Linked DNA regions of Homo sapiens: region 1 is linked to region 2. The links are contacts of gene promoters, found by promoter capture Hi-C in blood cells and fetal thymus (Javierre and others, 2016). All regions are on one chromosome and are shown on one strand. Each heading gives the region's core, a stretch centred on a gene start or on the middle of the fragment in contact. The rest is flanking DNA. Distances are from core to core; before and after follow the strand shown. Region 1 has its middle 42 kb from the start of RPRM. Region 2 holds the start of STAM2 (signal transducing adaptor molecule 2).

What was found. Contacts are between HindIII fragments. The CHiCAGO score rates a contact against its expected background, and 5 or more counts as called.
Region 1: a contact is called between a fragment that was not itself captured here and the fragment with the promoter of STAM2 in region 2, in 3 of 17 cell types (total CD4 T cells, naive B cells and naive CD4 T cells). The highest score is 8.4, in total CD4 T cells.

Annotation. Positions count from the first base shown.
Region 1 is chr2:153,517,301-153,523,678 of GRCh38, reverse strand. It overlaps a transcript of GALNT13 not described here. Among named protein-coding and RNA genes, the nearest start is that of RPRM, 42 kb to the right of the region's middle. The HindIII fragment of the contact is 889 bases long and covers 2,375-3,263 here.
Region 2 is chr2:152,170,884-152,177,207 of GRCh38, reverse strand. It overlaps STAM2 (signal transducing adaptor molecule 2), which reads left to right and starts at 1,445. Exons shown (of 14, transcript NM_005843.6): 1 at 1,445-1,605. The coding sequence starts at 1,566. It overlaps LOC105373689 (a long non-coding RNA gene), which reads right to left and starts at 1,675. Exons shown (of 3, transcript XR_923477.3): 1 at 651-1,675. RefSeq lists enhancers at 1,088-1,507, 984-1,507, 1,668-1,807, 1,858-1,907. The HindIII fragment of the contact is 5,938 bases long and covers 1-4,205 here.

The DNA of each region.
Region 1 (6,378 bases), core at 1,570-4,069, 1.3 Mb before region 2:
CATGATTGCCAGATACAAGGTTAATATACAAAAGTCAATCACGTTCCCCTCTACCAGCAATAAACAAGTGGAATTTGAAATTAAACTCACAATATTACTTACATTAGCACTCAAATAAGATACTTAAGTACAGATCTAACAAAATATGTACAAGGTCTATCTGAGGAAAACTATAAAACTCTGATGAAAGAAAGCAAAGAACTAAATTAACGGTGAGATGTTTTGTTTTTATGAACAAAAGACTCAATATTGTTAAGATGTCAGTTCTTTCAAACTTGGTCCATAGATTCAATGCAATTCCAGTCAAAATTCCAGCAAGTTATTTTTGTAGATATCACCAGACTGATTCTAAAGTTCATATGGAGAAGTAAATGACTCAGATAGCCAATACAATATGTAAGAAGAACAAAGTTGGAGTATTGATATTGCCTGACTTTAAGATGTACTATAAAGCTACAGTAATCAGAAAAATTTGGATCATCAAAAGAGAACATAGATCCCAGAAATAGACCTGTATAGTCAATTGATCTTTGACAAAGGAGCAAAGCCAACGCAATTGAAAGGAGAATCTTTTCAACAAATGGTGTTTGGAACAACTGGACACCCACATGCAAAAAAAAAAAAAAAAAAAAAAATAGTAAACACAGACCTTGCATCCTTCACAAAAAATAACTCAAAATGGATCATAGACCTAAATGTAAAACACAAAACTGTCAACCTTTGAAGAGATAACATACATGTCCTTGGGTTTATCAATGACTTTTTAGATACAACACCAAAAGCACAATCCATGAAAGAAGGAATTGATAAATTGGACTTCATTAAAACTACAAACTTTTGTTCTGCAAAAGACACTATGAAGAGAATCAAAAAGCCACAGATTGGGAGAAAATATTTGGAAAAGACATATCTATTAAAGCACCGTTATCCAAAATACACAAAGAACTCTTAAAATTCAAAAATAAGAAAACATCCAATTAAAAAGGGGGCCAAATATCTCAATAGGCACCACACGAAAGAAGATGTACACATGGAAAATAAGTACCTGAAAAGATGCTCCACATATGTCTTCAGGGAAATGCAAATTTAAAACAACAAGATACCACTATACTCCTTTTAGGATGGTCAAAATCCAGAATGAAAACACCACCACCAACAGAAACAACAGGAACTCTCATTCAGTGCAGGTAAGAATGCAAATAGTAAAGCTACTTTGGAAGACAGTACACTGGTTTCTTACAAAACTAAACTTACTCTTAGCATATGAGTAAGTTTAGTTTTGTGCCTCACTTCTCACACTCTCACTTATTGTGCCACTCTCTCTCTCTCTTTATTTTTTTCTCCTTGAGACAGAGCCTCACTCTGTCGCCCAGGCTGGAGTGCAATGGCGCGATCTGGGCTCACTGCGACCTCCACCTCCCAGGTTCAAACGATTCTCCCACCTCAGCCTCCTGAGTAGCTGGGCTACAGGCACGTGCCACCACACCTGACTAATTTTTTGTATTTTTAGTAGAGACAGGCTTTCACCATGTTGGCCAGGCTGGTCTCAAACTCCTGAGCTAGCGATCTGCCCACCACGGCCTCCCAAAGAGCTGGGATTACAGGCATGATGTGCTCCTCTTTTATTTAGCTAGTGAAGCTGAAAATTTATATTCATACAAAAAAATGCATACAGATGTTTATAGGAGTTTAGTTCATAATTTCCAAAATTTTGAAGCAACTAAGATATCATTCAGTTGGCAAATGGTCAAACTGTGGTACACCCAGACAATGGAATATTATTCAGCACTAAAAAGAAATGAGCTGAGCTGTCAAGCCATGAAAAGACACAGAGGACCATAAAATGCATATTACTAAGGGAAAGAGATCAATTTGAAAAGGCTACATACTATATAATTCCAACTATATGACATTCTAGGAAAGGTAAAACTATGGAGACCAAAAAAGATCAGCGATTGCCAGGAGTAGAGGGAGAGAGGAACAAATAGGCAGAATACGGATGATTTTGAGGGCCATGAAAATACTCTGTATGATACTATAGTAGTGGGTACATGTCATTATGCCTTTGTCAAAATCCACAGGATGGTACAACACCAAGAATGTAGCCTGATGTAAACTATGGACTTTGGGTGATAATGATGTGTCATTGTGGGTTCGTCAATTATAACATGTACCACTCTGGTACGGGATGTTGATAATGAGAAAGGCTGTGCATGTGTAGACGGAAGGGATATATGAGATATCTCTGTACTTCCCTCTTAATTTTGCCCTGAACCTAAAACTACTCAAAAATAGTCTTTTAAAAATTTGATGTAGTTTATGTTTTTGGACAATAAGAACTTAGGCAAGCAACTTAAAACTTTATGGTAAAGCTTTTCCATTAGGAAAAAAAAAAACCTAATGGTATTTATCATCCACTACCATAGTGGTCCTGTGTAAATTAATTAGAATGAAAACACTAATGAAAAATTAGAATGAGTTAAAAGAATGTTTGGAGCTCTTCAGAAGAAGGACTATGCTTTAAAACATCTGTAACATAGAACAAATATAACTTACAAGGATACTTTATATGGCGCTTTCAGGTGTACTTCCTAAACATCACTGTCTTCCTTTAAAGTAAAATAATAACATGTTTTAAAAGTATAAAATAGGGTTAAAATTAAATCTGTCATGCACCAAAAGGAATTTTGGGAGCTATAGGGAATGTATAAACATTCACTAATAAAATGTGCAATTTAAAAGAAATCTCTATTCAATTATCTCCATGAGCTCATATTCATCAACAAAATAACCTATTTATGATTTACATATCTCATGGTCTCTTCTGTTCATGTACTTTTGTCTACGGAAAGGAAATTATTCAGATTTGATTATTATATTCTAATAATTTATGAAGATAATAATGTACCACTAAAAGGGTTCTAAAATCACTTTGGGAATAATCAAAATAGAAGAGAAAATGTCTTTGAAATAAATTATAAGAGAAATGAAAAGCAGTAGGGCAGTCAATAGCAGGAAAATGTTAGGTGCCAATGCGCCAACCTCTCAGCATTTACTTTTATTTTTCGAGCATTAAGATAAAACTCTTCCATGGGAACCTCTGATGAGTTCTCCTTTTCTGACCAGAAAATAAAGAAATAAAGAAATGAAGCATTCCTGAGGTCAGACTGAGTTCTGATTTCTTCAGATTGCATTTTTGAATAAATCTTTAGATTCTCAATGAAGCCAACAATTCATAAAATTTTGAAAGCCCAAACTAAGCTTGAAAAGATATCTGTGTTCTTTGGTCACCAGAAAATTTTGAAGAATTATGAACCTCAAATGATGCCCTGAGATCACAAAATTTAGCTGCTAACCTTCCCAACCAATTAGGATCTACACTAGCCTGAATTGCTTAGTGTTTGTATTATTTTTATGACCTCTGGAGAAACAGATGCAACAATTATCCATTCCTTAAGGTACCTTACTGCCTGAAATAAAAATTATATGTGCAAAGATCATTAAAATAAATAACTCAAATATGTTGTTAAATATTATTTTTAAATGAGTAAATTTTTTTTCTAGTAAGACAGGAAGATGTCTGGCTCATATTAACATCATCATATGTTTAATAGTTTAATTTAGCATCTGGTGCCTTTGCTGCCAGCCCTACAGGGAGAGAGATTAAAGATGGACCACATCTGCAGTTAGTAATAGCCAATCAAAGCAGTCAGACTCTAAGAAAACGAAGATCTTCAGGCCACATTATATGCTGCTGGGTTGCTAGCCATAATTTGTGACATGTCCAGAACACTCCAGATATTCTGGATTTACCTAAGAAATAATACTAAACTTGAAGTGCTAAAACAAACCCAAAGGAATAAAATGTAATGGATTCCAATGGTGCCTTGTCACTCCATTTTTGTGACTCCTCTAACTTTAGCTTCTTACAGGGGGATTCTATTTGTAATACAAAATAGGAGAAAAAATAAGGTTGAGAATTTTTAATCACAAGAAATATTTCCCATTGAAGCCTATTGCTCTATCTTTTATAGCAAAAGTGAGCTAGCAACAGAATGGCTTGATTTGTCAACTGATTGAAGAAGAAACTTTATCTAAATAAACCCTACATTTATAGATGACATACAAGCAAAAAGCCCATGAAAGGGCAACAAAATCATAAAACAGTTAAAAAGAAAAAAAAGACAATGCTTCTGACCAGCAGGTGGCGCTGCAATCCATCATTGTTAGCCAATTGGAAATCTAAGAATACTTGTACTATCCTGTTGACTGTAATTTCCTATTTAGACTCTTCCTGATCCTTTTAACTTGGTGTGTTATGGCATGCTGTGCCCAGTTGTTTTCATTTCAGCACAGAACTCAAAGGAAATTGTTAGACCTGCAGGATTGATAGATTAACTCTGCTAACAATATCAACAATCAAAATTTGTAATAAACATTATCAACCCTGTGAATTATTAAATCAAGCCGTTTAAATGGAAAATATCGATTTTACAGTTTATCAACAGAATCCTGTTTGGACGTGTGAAATAGCAGCAATTTGTAGTAAAGTTAAGCTAAAGGGGTTTCTAAAAGTCCTAGGAGCCTTGGACACAATAGACTTACCCATTAACTTCTTAGTCTATGGCTTAGCAACAATTTAACATATATAGAATGACATAATTAGCAGAAATTTAAAGAATATAGTAAGTCATTTGTTCCAAGGATGGAAATGATCTGGCTAGCATATGTCTTATGCACCCTTTTGTGCCCAAGTCAGAAATCACAGTACCCAATTACAGTACTGTATTGTGCTGAGTCAATGCAAGGCTCTTAGCCTTTTCAGTAGAGCTCTCAATTCATATGAAACCCATTTTCCATCTCTGGGACTGATAAGAAAAGGCTCAGAGAAGTTAATTATTGTTCTAGGAACCCACTAAACATTTATAGAACCAGATACCAGATATTTCACCATCTAATAGATATTTATAGTTATTCTAGTTCAGTAACTTCTAGTTTTAGTTATTGAACTCAAATAACAATTTTATAATTTAAAATAATAATCTTTCTCCAATACTAAGAACTCATACAAACCCTTTACTTTATAAATTTAGCAGTACCTAGAATACAAAGAGGTTTAAAATATACTTGCCTAGTCACATAAAGTCAGTAACAGACATGATTCAAGCCCATGTCTTGTGACTTTGTTTTCTTAGTATATTTTGGATTTCTACTTCAGAAACAGGATTTTTCTTCTGTTTGTTTCTCCACTTATTCATTCTCATTTTTATAAAATCTTTATAGTCTCCATACGCATTTCAGAAACCATGTCAGGTATCAAGTATCCTGGATGAACAAATATACATGGTCCTTCCCATCAAAGAGCATGCAGTACAGCACTAAACAAGGAGACAGATTGTGTGTGACTTTCATTATGATAAGGGCTACGAAGAAAGAACTATGAGAAAAACAATAGAAGAACATATTTGGATTGGTCAGATAACATGTCTGAAGTCATTGGAAGAACACTGAAAAAATAAGAACCTACCAAAGGAAGGGCCAGGGTGTGTGTATTGGACAGGGGTCTGGAGTTGAGGGCAGTATATCCAGGAAGAAGAAAATGTGTGACTGTCCTGAGCTACCATGTTTTCTCAGCACCATAAAGATGATACTCATTTCTGGCACGAATCATTTTTTAAATCATGTTGTGTCCTGCTCAGTGCATCATATCAAGTGTTTCATGCTATTGATATGTCTTCTTATTGGGGATGTTTACCTTGGTCACTTCAGTCACTGTGTATTTGGTTATTCCACTGCAAATTTACTATTTTCTTCTCTGTAGTTGATGAGCATCCTAGGGGAGATACCTTGAAACTATATACATCCTCTTTCTCTTCAAACTTTTGCCAACTGATTTTAGCACACATTGGTGGATATTTATCTACAATATGTGTTACTATGATGTCTGCCTAATGGTGATTCTCTATTTCCCTTTTCCTTCTACATTAATGGAAATTCTACTGTGAGGAAGAGCTATCTGTAGCTCCCATTTACTTATTCAATTATTCATTTATAGTAGTAAGGACTCATGGAAATTTGCTTGATTCCATGGGTAAAATTCAATACTATCAATATTTTCTGACTCGAATTGTTCCAGTGTTGGCCATTAGTTCCTTCAGGTTTGTCTCTTGTGTTTCTCTGACAAACCTCTCTCTTCTGAACATTTCTCTGCTTTCTGGCACCATAAAGGGTTTCAAACCTCATACTATATTTTCTTGTCCCAGCGCTGAAGTCAATCACTTCTCCTAGAAGCTCTGGTTCCTTTTATCGAGTAAGAAAAGTAATTCTTAACTCAGAGCACGTATTAGTTTCACCCCCTGGGCTTTTGAAAACACTCAG
Region 2 (6,324 bases), core at 196-2,695:
TAGTAGAGACGGTTTTTCGCCATGTTAGCCAGTCTGGTCTTGAACTCCTGGCCTCAAGCAGTCTGCCCGCCTTGGCCTCCCAAAGTGCTGGGATTACATGCGTGAGCCACCATGCCCGGCCTCCCAATTTATCTTGAACATCCCTAGGTTCAACGTTCTATGAAAAACAGCCCCTTCTGCACGATTCCTTCTCATTTGTGCCCCGAACTTTATAAAATGCAACCACCTTTCTGAATGTGTATGAGCTCTCTATAGCATCAGGTCTTTATACTAGAGTTTGTAAAATGGTTTTGATTAATCTATTATTTAAAATGTTGGAGTAATTCTCAACATTTAAACATCATTGAAAAATTGCAAACTCTAGTAGGACCCACATTTCAATAAATGGCTGCAATTTACCAGTAGTTGACATCTTTAGATACGCACTGTTCAGTTAGAAAGTTACAGCTTCATTCGAAAAGCATTGAGCGTCTATTACTTGGGACACTGTTTTAGACGCTGGGGATATAGTAGTGACCAAAACTTATCAGGGAGTTTATAATCTAATGAGGAGGAGAGACAGGCAACATAATCATTACTACAGTTTTCTAAGAGGAACAGAGAATATGTGGGTGGGAAGGGTGCTTGGGCTTTTGCATTCATTTAAATACCTGGCTGGATGCTGTTGGAATTTGAGTTTATGACTCGTACTACCATCCGAATCGTCATACACCATCATGTACGTTATGCACTGCCCCTATAAAACTCTCAACAAGTCTAAGGCAGGGAGTGTGCCTCCTTCGCCTTTGGATTCCGGGGGCCCAGCAGTGTTTTTATGGAGGGGACACGATGGAAAGCGAAAAGTTAGGCGTAGTTACTTCGACCACCGCTGTCCCGGGTGGTTATTCTGACGGGGTTTGGACTGGGCGCCTGGGAGGGTGCAACACAATAATTGTTGAAGAGCAGTCAGGTCTTTCGCAGAATCTCAAAGCCACCTCCGCGCCGGCAGCTCCGTTTCTAGGGAAACAGGACTGTAACGCGTACGCGTCGTGGGTCCTCGTTCTCTAGCTACGAGTCCTGCCGCTCTGAAACAAACTAAATTCGTGACAAGAACTTGGCCCTCAGAGCCCGTCGTCCAACGCGAAAAACCACGGGTAACCGCGCCCCCTGCCGCGCCGCCGCTGGCACTGCAGCTTCCGGGGTCGTCCAGTTCCAGGCGGGACTACTTCCGGCTCCGAAGGTCCCCGGCTTCGTGGCTAGCCGGGGTCCTAGCGCTGGAAAGGTGGCCGTAGCGGCCGCCTGACCCCTACAAAAGTCTGGGACAGGGGCAGCGACAAAGGCCTTGGGAGGACGCCCATGGTCGGAGGGATCTCGCCCCGGGAGAAAAGTTGGGACAGGAGCGCGGGATCGAAGGGTGGACTCCGAGCCGGCCTGTCAGGCAAGAGCCGGGCAGGTGCGGTGGCGGAAGTGCAGGGACGGAGGCCGAAGCGGAGCGGTCTAGGGAGCCGCGGCCGCGGGTCACCCGGCGGGTAGCAGTTGCTGAGTGTCAGCTAGACAGCAGCGACTAGGGCTCGGGCGCCGGCGAGATGCCTTTGTTCACCGCCAACCCCTTCGAGCAAGACGTGGGTGAGTGCTGTGCCCGGTCCTGGACTGCTGTGTGCCTGGCCCTGGACTGCTGTTTGTCCGGCTAGAAAGTGGGCGGTAGCGACTCCGGGGACTAGGAAGCAAAGCGAAGGGAGGGGAGGGGCGGTGCCGCCCGCTCCTTCGACGTTGGGATTTTTCTGGGGCAACCTCGGCGCGTCGCTAGCGGTCTGGGGAGTGCTTCCTGCCGCCTGAGTTTGGGGACCCTCAAAGGGCCGTTCTCCTTGCCAAGCGTAGGATTTGGGAAGAGCCTAGGGCTCGCTGGAGACTGGACTGATTAAGTAGTTGTGGAGTTGGTGATTAAAAACTTCCTGCTCGTTCGACAGCTGGTTACCTCCGTCTTTGCCCCATCGTTTTCTGAAGATGATGCAGCAGTGGAGACCCTGCTGTCTAGAGAAGCCCAACACTAGACACTTGACACCTAGACAACCGCATTGAATAGGAAGAACTTACTTCCCCATTATTTATATTACTCATGCATTCAATCCCTGATAGGGTAGCTTTAAGATTTATTACAATTGTAAAGGTGTTGCTCTTCATCCCCGGATTGCAAAGATTGCGCGGGTGCTAGGAGATGTTCGGTTTTAGAGTATGAAAAGGAAATCTCCAGTCTCAAAACACTCCAGAACAACAAGTATTTTACATGTTGCAGTCATAAAGCGCTGGTCTCTCAGTGACTATAGAATGAGAAAAACATGGATAAGATATATACGAAATTATTTAGGAAATTTGAGTAACACTAAAACAAACTGAGAAATATATGTATGTATTCTCGAAAGTCTGGGTCTCACTATGTTGCCCAGGTGCGACTAGAATTCCTCCCACCTCAGCCTCCACCTCCGTTTCCCCTTCCCGAGTAGCTGGGACTACAGGTTTGTTTTTTGTTTGTTTTTGTAGCAGTAGTTAACAGAACCCTAGGTAAATTTTTAGAACTTGGAAATGGGGTTGGGGCGGGGAGACTCAGAAGAATACTGCACATCTCAGCAGTAATTCCCCTGTTTCATAGTTAACATTTGGTTATTAGGAGACTGTAGAAAGTGCCCTATTCTGATACGTTGTGTAATCCCCTAAGCCATTTTAAAAAACATGTTTGAGTCAAATAATATATGTAAATAGTTCAAATATGTATGTTCCTTACTTCATTAAACTTTTTTTTTGGTGGATGAATACAGGTGACTGGCGTAAATCTGGGAAACATCACTCTTAAGGCTCACTGTTTCCTTTTGGAACGCCTCATTGCAGTATTCTTTTGTTTGAATCATACAACCTTTGTGCAACCTGTACTTTTAAAAAATTGCTATTATGAACACTTTGATTCTGTTCTAATGAAATAAAACAGAAGGCGCAAAATAGAATTAGACAAATGATTTTAAAACTTAAAAACCGTGAATTCTTTTCTTCAATATAAATTTTTCTTGAAAGTTCATTGTTTTCTGATGGAAAAATTCTCTGGTACAAGTAGGCAGAGTTGCTCTGTCTGTTCTGTTCTAAACCTTTCCCTGCCTGGCTCCCGAGGCCCCAGCATTGGTTTAGTGGATCACAGTTTAGTCCTACAGTTGTAAAGGAGGCACTGCTGTTGAGATTAAAAAAACAAACAAACAAAAAAACTGTGTCTAGATTATTTTATGGCCAGTGCCATAAGCCAGAGCTTCAAGTAGTTACATATTAGCTTAAGCATGACTGAATTCAGAACCCCAAAGGCATTTTAAGGGTGAAAGAATGAATTTGAGGCCCTCCTGTAACTTCTGGACAAGAGAATGGAATTAGAAAAAGTAGAATGAAATACTAAAGAGCTCAAATTGGACTTGCACGTATATCATAGAAGAAAAATTATATATTACGTTTTTAATATCTTAAAACTTTTCATTTCAAATCGTTAATACAAAGCAAGGGTCAGGCGCAGCGGCTCACGCCTGTAATCCCAGCACTTTGGGAGGCCGAGGCGGGTAAATCACTGGAGGTCGGGAGTTTGAGACCAGCCTGACCAACATGGTGAAACCCCGTTTCTACCAAAATACAAAAAATTAGCCAGGCATGGTGGCGCGTGCCTGTAGTCCCTGCTACTGGGGAGGCTGAGGCAGGAGAATCACTTGAACCCGGGAGGCGGAGGTTGCAGTGAGCCAATATCTCGCCACTGCCCTCCAGCCTGGCGACAGAGCAAGACTCCGTCTCGAAAAAAAATATATATATATATGTATACATATATATATATATGTATATATATGTGTGTATATACGCCCACAGACACACACGCATACACAAAGCAAGTCATTATTTGACTTGAGATGTCTACAGGAAATGTTACTTTACATTGTCATTGTCTTTTTCACTTGTTCTCTTTGATTCAGTCAGATTTTTGTTACCCTTTTTTTTTTTTGGTCATTCCTTTGTTCACTCTTCATTCAGCAGGCATACATTGAATAATTACTGTGTGTCAAGCATTGTGTTAATCTATGGACACAAAATGAGTAAATAGACTGTGAGTTCCTGCCTTCAAGGAACTCTCAATCTAATGGAGGAAACAGAGAGACATAAGACCTGTAATTTAGTACGATAAGTATAGTGCTACAAATATACAAGAAGCTTTAATCCTCTTTTATTTAAAATAGTCATAGTCCCTGAAGAAAAGACAAGGACCTTCAGATAGGAGCTTTCTCTGTAAAGGTGTTGACACTATCCTCTCCTTCCCACCTTTTCTTTTTTCTTTTTCTTTTTTTTTTTTTTTGAGACGAATCTGTCTCTCAGGCTGGAATGAAGTGGCCTGATCTTGGCTTACTGCAACCCCGCCTCCCGGGTTCAAGTGATTTTCCTGCCTCAGCCTCCCGAGTAGCTAGGACTACAGGTGCGCACCACCACACCTGGCTAATTTTTTGTATTTTTAATAGAGATGGAGGTTTCACCATGTTGGCCAGGCTGGTCTTGAACTCCTGCCCTCAAGTGATCTGCCCGCCTCGGCCTCCCAAAGTGTTGAGATTACAGGCGTGAGCCACTGTGCCCAGCCTCCTCCCCCCCTTCTCTGATAGCACTTTCCCAACAGGAAGTAACCACCTTTTGCTAATGTATGATATGGTCATTTTATGATTAAAGGCCTTTAAAGATTAATCTCTTTTGGTAGGTGAAGAGTCTTGCAGGAGGGTGAGCAGTCTTTCTGACAGTCATATGAGGAAGGAATCCTTTTCTCAGGGGCTGAGAAAAGGATGGGTCAAGATGTCTTAGGAAGGCACTCATGAATTGATGATGATATGTGACTTGTCAAATGGAAGCAGGCCAAAGGCTAGGAAGTAGGGAACTCTGGCAAATTCCTGTCTTTTCTTGGCATCAGAACCTACAAGCCCTGAAGGATATACTAGATTTGGTAGTGTTAGAACTCTTTAAACATTTTATCTAGATTCATTTTTTTGTTTTGTTTAATAAGATTTCTTTGATGTGTTCTGAGGGGAAAAAAGAAAATATCCTTAGGTCCCACCTCTTCTCCCCAGCTGGGCCTCAAGTGTTAGAGGGGTACAGGGATCTTGAGGTAGAGCCTGGTTGGAGTAGCCATTCTTGTAGAATTCCAAGGGGAAAGTGAAACATGGGGGACGGGGCCACAGTGGTTAGTGTTAACAGAGAAGATGTCATTTCCTTATTCATTGATTTCCAAGTCATGACTTGTCTGTTCTAAGCCTTAACTCCGGTTCTTGTTTGCATATCTTTTTTCCCTTTACTCAAGCCAGGCAATCTTTCTTGCCAGTTTTCTGCCTCTGTGCTATTTACCATTCATTGCTAAATGTTTGCTCTTTTCAACCTTGGTATTTCCTTTAAAGATACGCTTGTGTCCCACAAAGCTGAGCTCAAATTCTACCTCTACAAAACTCTGTGGACGCAGTGGTTTGAATTGTTAGCTTTTAAGAGAATACATTTCCAAGTGACATTTTAATGTGTGTATTGCTGTGTTTCTGACTTTTGCTGTGTTAGAAGAAGTTGACCAGGAAGTAGCTTGGGACTTTCTCCAGTGAAATGCAGTCATGCAGTCCTTTTCTCCAGTGAAATTTTATAAGAAATCCCAATATAAAAATAGATATTGATAGCATAAGAATAATATAAATTCATAACATACACACAAATTTATAACATTTACTTAACTAGGCCACTCTTTGTACAATAAGTTAAAATCTTTGTAAAAGTAAAAATTTTTTTAAAAAGTTTTTTGGTTTTGAATAAGAATAGTAGACTTAACAGCCAGTTTTTTTTCTAATATATTTTGTAGCTTTTTAAACTATGAAATATTTTCAGCATAAAATAGAAAATATGAACTCCCATTCCTGCCAGGCAATTATGTCAAGTGCTAATATTTTGATATACTTGATTCTTTTTTTTTAAGAAAGGAACATTCAAGATGCAGTGAAATACTTTAGTATTTTTAGCAGCTACCTGATCCCATTCTTCCTCCTTTCTCCGAGTTAAACACTCTATAAATAGATAGAAATTCTCTTTAATAGTATAATACTACACTTACAAATATACTATATATTGTTTGGATGTTTTTAAACTTCTTAAAAATGGTGTCTTTTTGTCATTCTGCAACTTTTGTCATCCAGCATTTCTTCTTTTTTGAGACGGAGTCTTGCTCTGTCGCCCAGGCTGGAGTGCAGTGGTGTAATCTCAGCTCACTGCAACCTCTGCTTCCCAGGTTCAAGCAATTCTTGTGCCTCAGCCTCCCGAGTA